3 separate regions of the Homo sapiens genome follow, and all the other regions are linked to region 3. Evidence: promoter capture Hi-C in 16 types of primary human blood cells and fetal thymus (Javierre and others, 2016). All regions are on one chromosome and are shown on one strand. The core of a region is centred on a gene start or on the middle of the fragment in contact, and the rest is flanking DNA. Distances in the headings are between cores, read along the strand shown. Region 1 holds the start of MICOS10-DT (MICOS10 divergent transcript). Region 2 has its middle 4.1 kb from the start of CAPZB. Region 3 holds the start of IFFO2 (intermediate filament family orphan 2).

Evidence for each region. The method cuts DNA at HindIII sites, captures the fragments that hold promoters and counts their contacts. A CHiCAGO score of 5 or more calls a contact.
Region 1: a contact is called between the fragment with the promoter of MICOS10-DT here and the fragment with the promoter of IFFO2 in region 3, in 3 of 17 cell types (total CD8 T cells, total CD4 T cells and fetal thymus). The highest score is 7.0, in total CD8 T cells.
Region 2: a contact is called between a fragment that was not itself captured here and the fragment with the promoter of IFFO2 in region 3, in 1 of 17 cell types (fetal thymus). The highest score is 6.0, in fetal thymus.

The regions. Positions count from the first base shown.
Region 1 is chr1:19,593,843-19,598,279 of GRCh38, forward strand. It overlaps MICOS10-DT (MICOS10 divergent transcript), which reads right to left and starts at 2,990. Exons shown (of 2, transcript NR_135054.1): 1 at 2,868-2,990. It overlaps MICOS10-NBL1 (MICOS10-NBL1 readthrough), which reads left to right and starts at 3,137. Exons shown (of 4, transcript NM_001204089.2): 1 at 3,137-3,267. It overlaps MICOS10 (mitochondrial contact site and cristae organizing system subunit 10), which reads left to right and starts at 3,137. Exons shown (of 4, transcript NM_001032363.4): 1 at 3,137-3,267. The coding sequence starts at 3,204. RefSeq lists an enhancer at 2,930-3,229 and a silencer at 3,350-3,559. The HindIII fragment of the contact is 2,967 bases long and covers 2,525-4,437 here.
Region 2 is chr1:19,487,391-19,491,886 of GRCh38, forward strand. It overlaps a transcript of LOC105376819 not described here. Among named protein-coding and RNA genes, the nearest start is that of CAPZB, 4.1 kb to the left of the region's middle. RefSeq lists an enhancer at 1-492. The HindIII fragment of the contact is 5,377 bases long and covers 1-4,496 here.
Region 3 is chr1:18,955,026-18,959,072 of GRCh38, forward strand. IFFO2 (intermediate filament family orphan 2) reads right to left here and starts at 1,651. Exons shown (of 9, transcript NM_001136265.2): 1 at 643-1,651. The coding sequence starts at 1,307. RefSeq lists silencers at 404-593, 834-1,093, 1,664-1,833. The HindIII fragment of the contact is 3,069 bases long and covers 1-3,016 here.

The sequences.
Region 1 (4,437 bases), core at 1,740-4,239, 640 kb after region 3:
CCAGCTAATTTTTTGTATTTTTAGTAGAGACAAGATTTCACCGTGTTAGCCAGGATGGTCTCGATCTCCTGACCTTGTGAGCCACCCGCCTCGGCCTCCCAAAGTGCTGGGTTACAGGCGTGAGCCACCGTGCCCGGCCTTATTTATTAATTTTTATGTCCATTCGACAAGCATTTATTGAGAATCCGATATATACCAAGCTCTCTGCTAAGCATTAGGGATACAGAAATGGCACGGCCTCCATTCTCAATTTGCTCACAGTCAAAATCCAAAAGACACACAAATAATTGTTAAAATTACAAACAATTATTAAAAACACAAATCATCTGATAAGTAGCTGTGATGAGAATTAGAAGGGGCTGGGCATGGTGGTTCAGGCCTATAATCCTAGTACTTTGGGAGGACAAAGTGGGAGGATGGCTTGAGCCCAGGAGTTCGAGACCAGCCTGGGCAGCATAGCAAAACCTCACCTCTATAAAAAAGGAAAAGCAAAGAAAAATTTAAAGAATAGGAAAAATAGGGCTGGGCATGATGGCTCAAGCCTGTAATCCCAGCACTTTGGGAGGCTGAGGTGGGTGGTTCACCTGAGGTCAGGAGTTCAAGACCAGCTTGGCCAACATGGTGAAACCCCATCTCTACTAAAAATACAAAAATTAGCTGGGGGTGGTGGCACGTGCTTGTAATCCCAACTACTCAGGTGGCTGAGACAGGAGAATCTCTTGAACCTGGGAGGCAGAGGTTGCAGTGAGCCAAGATCATGCCACTGCACTCCAGCCTGGGTGACAGAGCAAGACTCTGTCTCAAAAAAAAAAAAAAAAAGAAAGAATAATTTAAAAAAATAGAGAACTAGGAGAAGGGAAGGGTGGTCATAGAAGTTATCTTGAAGGAAGAGGCTGTCGTAGCAAGATCTGATACAACAGAGTTTTGCTGTCATAGTTGCAAATAAATAGTTGAACGATGCCTGTAATCCCAGCACTTTGGGAGGCCAAGGTGGGTGGATCACTTGAGGCCAGGAGTCAAGACCAGCCTGGCCAATATGGCGAAACCCCATCTCTACTAAAAAAATACAAAAAGTTAGCCAGGCGTGGTGGTGGGCGCCTGTAATCCCAGCTATTTTGGAGGCTGAGGCAGAAGAATTGCTCAAACCCAGTAGGCAGAGGTTGCAGTGAGCCGAGATCGTGCCACTGCACTCCAGCCTGGGCAACAGAGCGCGACTCTCTCTCAATAAATAAATAAACAAATAAATAGGTGAATAAATTCAATTCAGTTCAACAAATATTTCATAGAAGACCCTACTATCCAAGGCATTGTGCTCTGACTGGAAGTATGAAGACGAAGGGGCAACTTCTAGTTCTACTAGCAGATAATATCTACAACCAGATGTTTCAGTACTAGATAGAGAAATCAATGCGGGTAGGCAGGGTAGTGGGACAATGAGAAGGGGAAGGCAGCTCTAAGCTCTATCTGACTAGGCTTCCTAGAATCAGTGCAGTGTTGAAGCTTGGATAGATCCAGTGTATGAATGGGAGTCATTGACAGCTTTTTTTTTTTTTCTTTTGTGATAGGGTATCACTCTGATGCCCAGGCTGGAGTGCAGTGGCATGAACATGGCTCAGTGTAGCCTCCACTTCCCAGGCTCAAGTGATCCTCCTACCTCAGCCTCCTAAGTAGCTGGGACTAAAGGCACACATCACATTAGCCTGGCTAATTTTTTAAATTTTTTGTAGAGACAGGAGTCTCACTATGCTGCCTAGGCTGGTCTTGAACTACTGGCCTCAAACAATCCTCCCGCCTCAGCCTCCCAGAGTGTTGGGATTACAGGTGTGAGCCACTGCTCTCGGCCTTCATTGACAGCTTCTAATCAGAGGCATAACGTGGTCAGATTTCTATTTGTTGGTAGGATGGAAGACTAAAATCAATGACACTAGCCAGTAGGCTGGATATACAATCTCTCTTGATAGCTGTGGGCATTTGGTTTCAGGATCTCGCAGTTACCAAAATGCAGGATGCTCAAGTCCCATATATAAAATGGCGTGGTATTTGCATACAACCTACACACATGCTTACATATCCTTTTTTAAAATTACTTATTTTTTTTTAAAGAGATGAAGTCGAACTCCTAGTCTCAAGCAATCCTCCCATCTCAGCCTCCCAAGTAGCTGGGACTACGGTCGCATGCCACTGCGCTGGCTCCCATATACTTTAAATCATCTCTAGGTTACTTATAATACCTAATACAATGTAAATCCTAGGTAAATAGTTGTACTGTATTTTAAATTTTGCATTATTTTTTATTTGATTCAAAAATGTTTCTGGTCCATGGTTGGTTAAATCCATGGATGCAAAACCCACAGATACAGAGGGCACCCTGTGTATGTATGTGTATGTGTGTGTGTGTGTGGGTGGGTGTGTAAATATATACATGGATAGGAGGCCTGAGGTAGACGTTTTACCTGGAGATATAATTTGGCAGTGTTTGCAATTACTCAGGGAGAGTCTGTACAGTGAAAAGAGAATTGATGGAAGCTTGCGAACCAACAGTCCTTAAACAGCTGGCAGAGAAAAGGCAGCCCTGGAGGAAACCAACAGACAACAGCAGATGGGGAGAAGAGGAAAGAGTGGCGTTACCGGGAGTGAAACGAATAGAGGAGCCAGGGAGGATCAGAGGGAGGGAAAATTGTGTGGAATGCGGTACAGAGGTCAGAAAAGAGTCCATTTGATTTGGCGGTAGGTAATCTTTCCCAGAGCAGTTTCGGTGTTAGTGGTTCAGGCGGGAATTCCAATGCAAGAAACCAGTGAACGAATGAGAGAGTGAGTAGGGAAAGTGAAGGTGAGTACGTTAATGAATGAATAAATCAAGTCTGTACCCTCTCTTGCCCGGGGGATTTCCAGGGCCAATGTCGCACTTTGGTGAGGAGGAAAGGCCTGGTCACGGCTTGGGGTGACGCCTAGGAAACTGTCAGCCTCGCAAACCCATAGGCGCAGCCCCAAGGTCAGGGTCACCTCGAGCCTCCAGACAACTCGTCACCTTGACGACCAACTGAAAAAACCGGAAGGGATGGAAGCAGCGGATCATCTCGCGATATCTGGAGCGTCTGCGCCTGCCTTCCTGACCTGGGACTTGTTTCCAGCTCTCGCGAGACTTTCAGGGGTCGGAGCGCGGGGGCCGGCCGAGAGGAAAGCTGGAGGCGCGGGTGGGGAACATGTCTGAGTCGGAGCTCGGCAGGAAGTGGGACCGGTGTCTGGCGGATGCGGTCGTGAAGATAGGTAAGGGGCTTTTCGCCCCAGCAGGCCCGGCCGGTGCAGAGCTGCTGGCTCCAGGCTGCGCTGCCCAGGAGGAAGGAAGGGAAGCCCCACGGGAGGTCAGGCCTCTCGGCCTTTTCCGGCCCCTCCGGCCAGGGCGAGCCGCCCGGGCCCCGGCGGGAGGTCACTCGGGCGGCGGGCACAGACCCGAGGAGCCGGAGCAGCAGCCCGGGTGCGGGGTGGAGTTGCAGCCCGGAGGAGGTGGTCGGGGTTGGCAGGTGGCAGGAGAGTCGCAGAGCTCTTGAGTGGAAGACAGTGTCGGGGCACACCCTCGTGCCGGAGCCGCGGGGTTCTCCTCCCGGGTGGTGCATTCCCCGGCACGCGGCGGGGAACCGGCTCAGGAGGCCACGCTGCTCCCCGGCGGAAACCAAAGTGCCTTCTGGAGAAGGTCACCTGGAGCATTTCATAGACACCGCCAGGCCCTGATGCGAGTTGCTGTCATTCCCGACTTGCCACCTGATTTATTTGAATCAGAGTAGTCTGGGGCCTGAACTTAGAGGGGTGATGATCTGGAATGAGAATTGCGCTGGAAAGTAAGAAGTTGTTCACGTTAAGTTTTTCTGCGTAGTCCTTTAACACGTGCTCAGTGACGGCACAAATTATGAAGTCACTGTATGGTGGGGAGGAGAAAGGAAACTCGTTTATTGAGCGTATATTGTCTTCATTGTGCGAAATAATCTTTTTACAGGCCGTGAAATGGAGAGTCAGGTGAAGGAATTTGCCCACGGTCACAGCTAACAAATGGCAAAATTAGGGATTTTACCCAGCTTTTCTGGGGTCAAGTCCCATGTTCCTTCTTCGATGCTAATTTTTGTTACCCAAATGTGATATTTTTGTGTGGTAATCTTAGGGTATTTAAGAGGATTTAGGATTGTGTCTTTGAATGAAAACATTGAGGAATAAGATTGTAAGCTCCATGAGAGCAGGGATGTTTTCTGGTTTAGTCACTGCCCCATCCCCAGCCCCTAAAAGAGTGCTTAATAAAAATTGTTGAGAGTGAGTCAATAAATGAAACAGTTTATAAGTTACCATTTCACCTCTGAATTCAGCACTTACAGTCAAGTGATTTGGGGCAAGTTATTTAACTTTTCTGTGCCTGATTCCTATTTGGAAATCGGCAGTAATAATTATTAC
Region 2 (4,496 bases), core at 955-3,454, 530 kb after region 3:
GGTGAAACTCCGTCTCTACTAAAAATAAAAAAATTAGCTGGGCGGGATGACGGGCGCCTGTAGTCCCAGCTACTCGGGAGGCTGAGGCAGGAGAATGGCGTGAACCCGGGAGGCGGAGCTTGCAGTGAGCCGAGATCGCGCCACTGCACTCCAGCCTGGGCGACAGAGAGAGACTTCGTCTCAAAAATAAAATAGTAATAATAATAATACAGTGTCGGGTAGTGATTAGAGATAATGAGAAAAATTCAAGCAAACAGGTAGGCAGGCAAGGCCTAACTTAGCAATATTTGATCATATAGCTGAAGGGAAGGAGGGAGCAAGCCGTGTGGATAGCAGAGGCACAAGGAGCAGCAAGGGTAAAAACCCTGAAGGTGACAGTGCTGCATCAGCACTGGTGTGTTTTCAAGGGCCAGACAGGAGGCCAGTGTGGCTAGCCTAGGTCGAGCAGGAGCTGAAGGACAGGGCAATGACAAGATTTGACCTAGGCTTTAAAAGGATCATGAGGCTGCTGTGTTCTGAATGGACTGTAGGGGGACTAGGGCCTTAGAAAGCCATTTCTATATTGAGGACATTTATTTATTTAAAAAGCACTGATATGGCACATCCTATGTGATGAACACTGTTAAGCACCTTACAGATAATAAGCCATTTAATCCTCATGACAGAAGCCTGAAAAGGTAAGGAGCTTGCCCAAGGTCACACAGCAGAGAGATGAAGCTGGCTTAGACCAGGGTAGTAGCATTGGAGATGGCAAGAAGTAGATAGTATTCTAGGTATTTCCTGATGTATTGGTGGTAGGCATGAGAAGAAAGGAATCAAGGATGATGCTAAGATTTTTTTTTTCATATTTAAAGACTTTGTCTTCTGTTGTTTTTTGTTTTGAGACAGTGTCTCAGTTCTGTTGCCCAGACTGGAGTGCAGTGGCGCAATCATAGCTCACTGCAGCCTCAACACCCCCGGACTCAAGTGATCCTCCCACCTCAGCCCCTCCCCACCCCCGCCCTGAGTAGCTGGGACTACAGGCGTGCATCACCGTGCCAGGCTAATTTTTTTGTAGAGACTGAGTCGCACTGTATTACCCAGGCTGGTCTCGAACTCCTGGGCTTAAGCAATCCTCCCACCTCAGCCTCCTAAAGTGCTGGGATTACAGGCATGAGCCACTGCACCCGGCCAAGACTTTGTTTTTTAGAGCAGTTTTAGTTTCACAAGAAAATTGAGAGGAAGGTACAGAGACAATCCATATATACCCCCCTGCCCCACATATGCAGAGCCTCCCTGAATTGTCCCCATTCCCCACTAGTGTGGTACATCTGTTGCAAATAACCTGCATTCATACATCGTGATCACCCAATAGTTTACATTAGGGTTCACTTATACAATCTATGGGCTTGGAGAAGTGGATAATTACATCTAGCCACCGTTAGAACCATCATACGGAATATTTTCACTGCCCTAAAAATCCCCCGTGTTCCACCTCTTCATCCCCTTTCCCCCAGCTCCTGGCAACCACTGATCTTTTTACTCCATAGTTTTGCCTGATGCTAAGGTTTTTGGCTTAACACTGGAAGGATTTACCATTTATTGATCTGGGGAAGACTGTAGGAGGAGCAGGGTTTTTCTGAGGAGAGGGTTGTGGATAAGAGGGAGCAAGTTATGTTTGAGATGCCTATTGGAGATTTTTTTGTTTTTGTTTTTGAGATGGAGTCTCACTCTGTCGCCCAGGCTGGAGTGCAGTGGTGCGATCTCGGCTCACTGCAGCCTCCGTCTCCTGGATTCAAGCAATTCTCCCACCTCAGCCTCCCAAGGAGCTGGGACTGCAGGCGTGCGCCACCACGCCTGGCTGATTTTTGAATTTTTAGCAGAGACAGGATTTCACCATGTTGGCCAGGCTGGTCTTGAACTCCTGACCTCAAATGATCTGCCCGCCTTGGCCTCCCAAAGTTCTAGGATTACAGATGTGAGCCACCATGCCTGGCCTCCTACTGGAGATTTTTTATTTTATTTTATTTTTTTTGAGACGGAGTCTGGCTGTGTCGCCCAGGCTGGAGTGCAGTGGCACAATCTCGGCTCACTGCAAGCTCCGCCTCCCGGGTTCACGCCATTCTCCTGCCTCAGCCTCCCGAGTAGCTGGGACTACAGGTGCCCGCCACTACACCTGGCTAATTTTTTTTTGTATTTTTAGTAGAGATGGGGTTTCACCATGTTAGCCAAGATGGTCTTGATCTCCTGACCTCATGATCCGCCCACCTCGGCCTCCCAAAGTGCTGGGATTACAGGCGTGAGCCACCGCGCCAGGCCCCTCCTACTGGAGATTTAAATGGAGATGTCAGGTGGGCGTGGTGGCTCACACCTGTAATTCTAGCACTTTGGGGAGACAAGTGGATCACCTGAGGTCAGGAGTTCAAAACCAGCCTGGCCAACATGGTGAAACCCTGTCTCTACTAAAAATACCAAAATTAGGTGGGCATGGTGGCACATGCCTGTAATCCCAGCTACTCAGGAGGCTGAGCCAGGAGAATCACTTGAACCCAGAGGTGGAGGATGCAGTGAGCAGAGATTGCACCACTGCACTCCAGGCTGGGTAACAGAGTGATACTCCATCTCAAAAAATAAAAATAAAAATAAATAAATGGAGATATCAAATAAGTAATTAGATATGGAAGTTTGGAGTTGGGGGAAGAAGTTAGAGCTGTGATAAACTTATGAGAACTGTCAGCTAGTAAATGGCATGTAAAGATACTTGAAAGCACAGACATCTTGGTGAACTCACTTTGTGGGTGAATGTAGAGAGAAGAGGTCATGAAGATAAAGAGGAACCAGCAGAAAGACTGAGAAGGAATGACCCGCGAGGCAGGAACAGGACCAAGAAAAGGTGGTGTCCTTCTTGGATACCAAGGGATGGAGGCCAAGCCTGAAGGAAAGTTCATTCACTGGACAGGTCACTCCACAGATTGGCTGCCCACTGCTCAGATCCTGCCCCTAGATCCATCAGCTATTGCTATGAGCATGGAGACACATGGCATTAAACATGGTCATCTACAAGGGGTTGTGAATTGGTATGCAGGCACTATAAATTTTGTTTATTTTAAAATTTTTTGGCCAAGCATGGTAGCTCACGCCTGTAATCCCAGCACTTTGGAAGCCTAGGTGGGAGTATTGCTTAAACCCAGGAGTTCGAGACCTCACTGACAAAGTGAGACCCCGTCTCTATAAAAAAGTCAAATAATTAGGCATGGTGGCACATGCCACTGGTCCCAGCTACACAGGAGGCTGAGGCAGGAAGATTCCTTCAGCCCAGGAGATTAAGGCTGCAGTGAGCCATGATTGCACCACTGCATTCCAACCTGCACAACAGAGTGAGACCCTCGTATCCAAATAAATAAATAAATAAATAAATAAATAAATAAATAAATAATAACTTTATAATTTAAATAGGGACGGGATCTCACCATGTTGGTCAGACTGATCTTGAACTCCTGGGCCCAAGTGATTCTCCTGCCTTGGCCTCCCAAAGTGTTGGGATATCAGGTGTGAGCCACAACATCCAGGCCATAAATATCTTTAGCAATGTTTCTCGTCTCATCCTCTTTTAAAGACCCTAACCCCCTTGAAGTTCATACTGTGATATTTTTCCACCTGCCACACCCTTTTTTTTTTTTTTTTAGCTTTCATGAACTTACCTCCATCTCCCCTTCTACACTTTCTTTAGGACTTCAGCATCCATAAGCATAATCCACCAGAAATCTTACTGACTTCTCCCTGATTTCTTCCCTACCAATCAGTTTCCTTTGCCTCTCTCCAGGTCCCACTCCTGTGGTCTTACCCTGGCCTGTTCTCGCCTTTAACTGCACTATCTCAGAAATCACAATCACACTGGCCAGGCATGGTGGCTCATACCTATAATCCTAACACTTTGGGAGGCTAAGCCCAGGATTTTGAGACCAGCATGGGCAACATGGCAAGACCCCATTTCTATAAAGATTTTTTTTTTTAATTAGCCAGGCATGGTGTCATGTACCTGTGGTCCCAGCTACTTGGAAGGCTGAGGTGGGAGAACCTCTTGAGCCCAGGAGGTTGAGGCTGCAGTAAGCTGTGTTTGTGCCACTGCACTCCAGCCTGGGCAACAGAGTGAGACCCAGTCTCCAAAAAAGAAAAGAAATCACAGTCACAAAGATCTCAAATCTGAGTCTAACCCGCTTACCATAGTATCACCACAAAAGCATTTCCTCAACCTCATTATTTCTTCAACCTCATCAAGACCTGCAAACCTTTGTCCCTGCCAGATTTTCACAATTACCTTCCCCTTCATGCTCACATCCCACCTGACCCAGCTTAGTAATGAGTATGATACTAACTCCCTTACAAAAGCCCAGAACCCTTTTACCTCCACCTTTTTTCATCAGAACATCTGAACATTGGCTGGGCAAGGTGGCTCATGTCTGTAATCCCAGCGCTTTGGGAGGCTGAGATGGGCAGATCACTTGAGGCCAAGAGTT
Region 3 (4,047 bases), core at 401-2,900:
TTACAGAGCTGGAGCAAGACGGCAGACACTGGCCCCAGGGGGTAGGGGCAGATCCATCCATTTTCAAAAACGTGATCTCATTTAATTCAAGAAATAAAAAGGCAGTGGGTTGGTTAGAGTTTTTCTTTTCATATGTTGAGGGAGGGGAGCATATTTCCTACTTCCTTGGTAAAAATACTTATGCTAGGAGACAGACTAGCCAGGAGTGGTTAAAATCTCTGGTTGAAATCCCGGTTTCACCACTTACTCGCCAAGCCACCTTAGGCAAATCACTTAGCATTTCTGCACCTCGGTTTCCTCATCTGCGAGATGAGGATAAGACTGCCTTACACAATACGCTGTATTGTGCTGAGAATTAAATGAGATCGCATAAAACACAGACAGTTATTATGTCACCTAGAAAACAATGTGCCTCACCAGTGACAGCATCGAGGTGGCCCCCACGGTAGCCAGCGCCCGCCCCCATCCTGGGATCTAGATAACTGGGCCTTCCTGGCGTACGTAAGACGCTCTGCAAACACAGCTTCCAGCCCACCTGCCAGTACCAGCTGCCCGCCCGGCCCCCGTCCCGCATACGCATTCCGCGGCAGCCTGGACCTGGGCGCCCCGTCCCAGGGCGGCGGGGGAGGGGCGGCCACTCACCTCCGCTTATACTCGTCGCGCTCGCGCTTCACCTTGGCCAGCACGTTGTAGAGCGCGCGGATCTCCGGCGTGATGGTGTCGATCTGCACGCCCACGCCGTCGGGGTGCACCCACGACACGCCGGGGCCCTGCACGGTCTCCACGCCGCCGCCGCCCGTGCGCCGCACCTGCGTGTAGCTCCAGATGGTCCCGGGCAGGCGGCCGTAGTGCTGCGGGTGCGAGCCGCCGCCGGGGGGCAGGCCGCCCAGGGCCACGGCATTGGCGTTGGCGCCGGCCGCCGCGCCACTGCTGAGGCCGTGCCCGCCGCCGGGCGCCGGGGGCCGCAGCAACTCGGGCCCGGTCTGCACGGCCTGCTCGCGGGAGAAGGTCTTGTAGCGCAGCCGCCGCTCGCGCTCGCTCTGCTGCTGCTCCAGCTGCTTCTCCAGCAGCCGGTTGCGCCGCTCCAGCTCGTGCACCTTAGCCAGGAAGCAGCGGAAGCGCACGTTGAGCCCCTTCAAGAGGTGGATGTTGGAGCCCAGGTCGTCCCGCAGCGCCGCCGTCACCGGCGACGGACCCGGCCCTGCCCCGCCGCCGCCGCCGCCCCCGCCAGGGCAGCCCCCGCCGCCGCCGCCCGGCGGGCAGCCGAAGGCCAAGGCCATCTCCCCGAACAGCAGCGAGTTCACCATGCGCCGGCTGCGCGGCTCAGGGCCCCGGGCCCGCGGCTCCAGGTGCGGCTCCAGCTCCGGGCAGGGCTCCCGGCGCGGCCGGGCCAGGGTGGGCGCGGGCTCCAGCGCGGCCGGCCGGGCGGTTCCAGATGCGCGCCAGATGCGGCCTCCGCAGAGACGGCAGGACGGATGGCCCCGGATGCGGGCGCCGAGGCGAGAGAGGGCACTCGGCCGCTCCTCGGGACGCGGTGGAGGCCGCGGTATCTGCGCGGGGCCAGAAGGGTCGCGGGTCTCACCGCCCGGGCTGTCAGAGACGCTGTGGAGGGGCCGCGGCAGCCGCACGCAGAGGACTCTCGGCCGGCACTGCCCCTTCTGCGGCGGGCCCCGCCCACTGCAGACACTGGCCCCGCCCCCGCCGCGGCCCCGCCCACCCCTCCTCCCTCTGCGGCGTTCCCCGAGCCCGAGGCTCCGCCCCACGAGGCCCGCAGCGCCGGGCCCCACCCACAGACCCTCGGCTCCGCCCACCTCCGGGTTCTCCCGCTTTCTCCGCAGCATAGACTCCGCCCAGCTCCCCGGCGGGGCCACGCCCTCTCCTGCGTCTGGTCCTGCCTCCCCGCCGGGTGCCGATTCTCTGCTGGGGGACCCGGACCGCAGAGCTGCACCAGGGACCGGGTTAGCTGGAACCGCCGCAGAGCCAGCCGGGCCTCTTAAAGGGGCCAGCAGCCTCGGCAACGCTCGCTTTCCACTTTTTAGGGCGCTCCTCTCCCACGTCGCCTGCCGAGAGGGCTCCGTTTCTCTGTCCTCTCTGCCCGCAATGCCCCTGGCCCCAAATTCCTTCGGATGTGCGCGACCGCGGCTGGAAGGGCTGGGGGACCACAGTATCCGAAGGTGCATCGGCACCCCACCCCCACTCTAGCCTGGGGAGGCCCAGATCGACCTTTCGGGGATAAGAGGGCGCCCGTGCCCCACGCTGCGGACCCGGGGGTGGGCTCCTCGAATGCTAGCTGCGGGCCTTGTCCTCTCGAGATCGGCCCGGGCACAGCTAAGCCCGCTGGTTCCCCCGCCCACTGAGGAGCCGAGCAGCATGGGGGTTGGGGAGGCCGAGCAAGACCCTCCCGGGATGACACCCACAAACTCGGCCTGGGCCTCGCCTCTGCTGAGCTGCTCAGCACCTCCCCACCACCCACACCCACACGCTGAGATGAAGCTGACCCCGAGAGCTGGGGATTCATTTCACAGACATGGGGCTTAGCGGGCCGCCTGGGGCAGACCGAGGCAACCCGAGGACCCATTCATTCATTCATTCATTCATTCAAATGTTTTCACACCTACCACGTTAAAGGCCAAGTTCTCCAGTCTCTGGTGTCTCCTGAACCGTGTTGCAAACATTAGTATATGTCAGGCGCCATACTTATTTATTATCCCCATTTTACAGAGAAGGTCACTGAGACGTTAAGTAGCCACAATGGTCCAAAGTGCATGCTCTAACCGGCCTTCCACAATGCTGGCCTCGGGCCTCGTGTCCATTTCCGCATTTGGTCCTCACCGCAAACCTCAGAGGGGAGGTGACCCCCACCTTGAACCCCCACCTTTGAACGCCTGTGGCTTGCATTGTATGCACTTAACCAGATATGTGGCATGTTTCAGATACTTCCGACTGCATTTTTTACTAGCAGTTTAATTTTTGTCTTGTTATTAACTTTTGTGTTTGTTTTGTCTCTTTGTATGTAAGCTTGAGGACAGGCACACTGTCTTACATGGACAATGCCTTGGTGTTCTTGGTGACAAAGGAGACACGGGCTTGCCCTGGAGTGATGTGGCTGTGATGTTAGTCTGCTGTGTTTTTGATTTAGCCACAAAAGCAAACCTTCCCCATAGTTCCTTCCCTCAACCACAGTTCCTTGCTTCCTGCCAACACGGACTCACCTTAAACACCCAGCTCTGAAACTCACTCATCTAGAAACCTTTCTCTGCTTAACCCAACCCAGTCTGGACACTGCCCTTTACTCTTCGTTCTCTCGTCTCTTGATGATGTTCTTGTTTATCTAACCTAAGGAATCAAAACCCCTTTGCCTTGAAGCAGAGGTTCATGGACCCCCAAGAGGACTGAGGATAGAATTCTGGGGGGTCCATGACACAGGGGTGGACAAAAGTTATACCTTTAGCCTCACTAATCTCTAAAGGCTTTGTTGTCTGTTTGTTTATTTGTTTGTTTGAAACAGAGTTTCACTCTTGTTGCCCAGGCTAGAGTGCAATGGTGCGATCTTGGCTCATCACAACCTCCACCTCCGGGGTTCAAGAGATTATCCTGCCTCAGCCTCCCAAGTAGCTGGGATTACAGGCATGCGCCACCACACCCGGCTAATTTTTTTGTATTCTTAGTAGAGATGGGGGTTTCTCTATGTTGGTCAGGCTGGTCTTGAACCCCCAACCTCAGGTGATCCGCCCACCTTGACCTCCCGAAGTTCTGGGATTACAGACGTAAGCCACCGTGCCCAGCCAATGGTTTTTAACATATCCTTTGATTATGAATGTAGGCAGCAAGTAGATGTCCCTGTGATTTTGTCACTAGTAGAAATCACAGGTATTTATGTAACACACTACAGTTATTGTAAACATCTCAAGATATCATCTAAGCTACGAGAACTGTGAAATTAAAGTCATATTAGACCGACCACTAAATCTTATTTAATGTATTAGTAAAAGAGAACGTATGTTACTATATGAGAAATTGTTAATAGTTTGATATCTATTTTTAGTA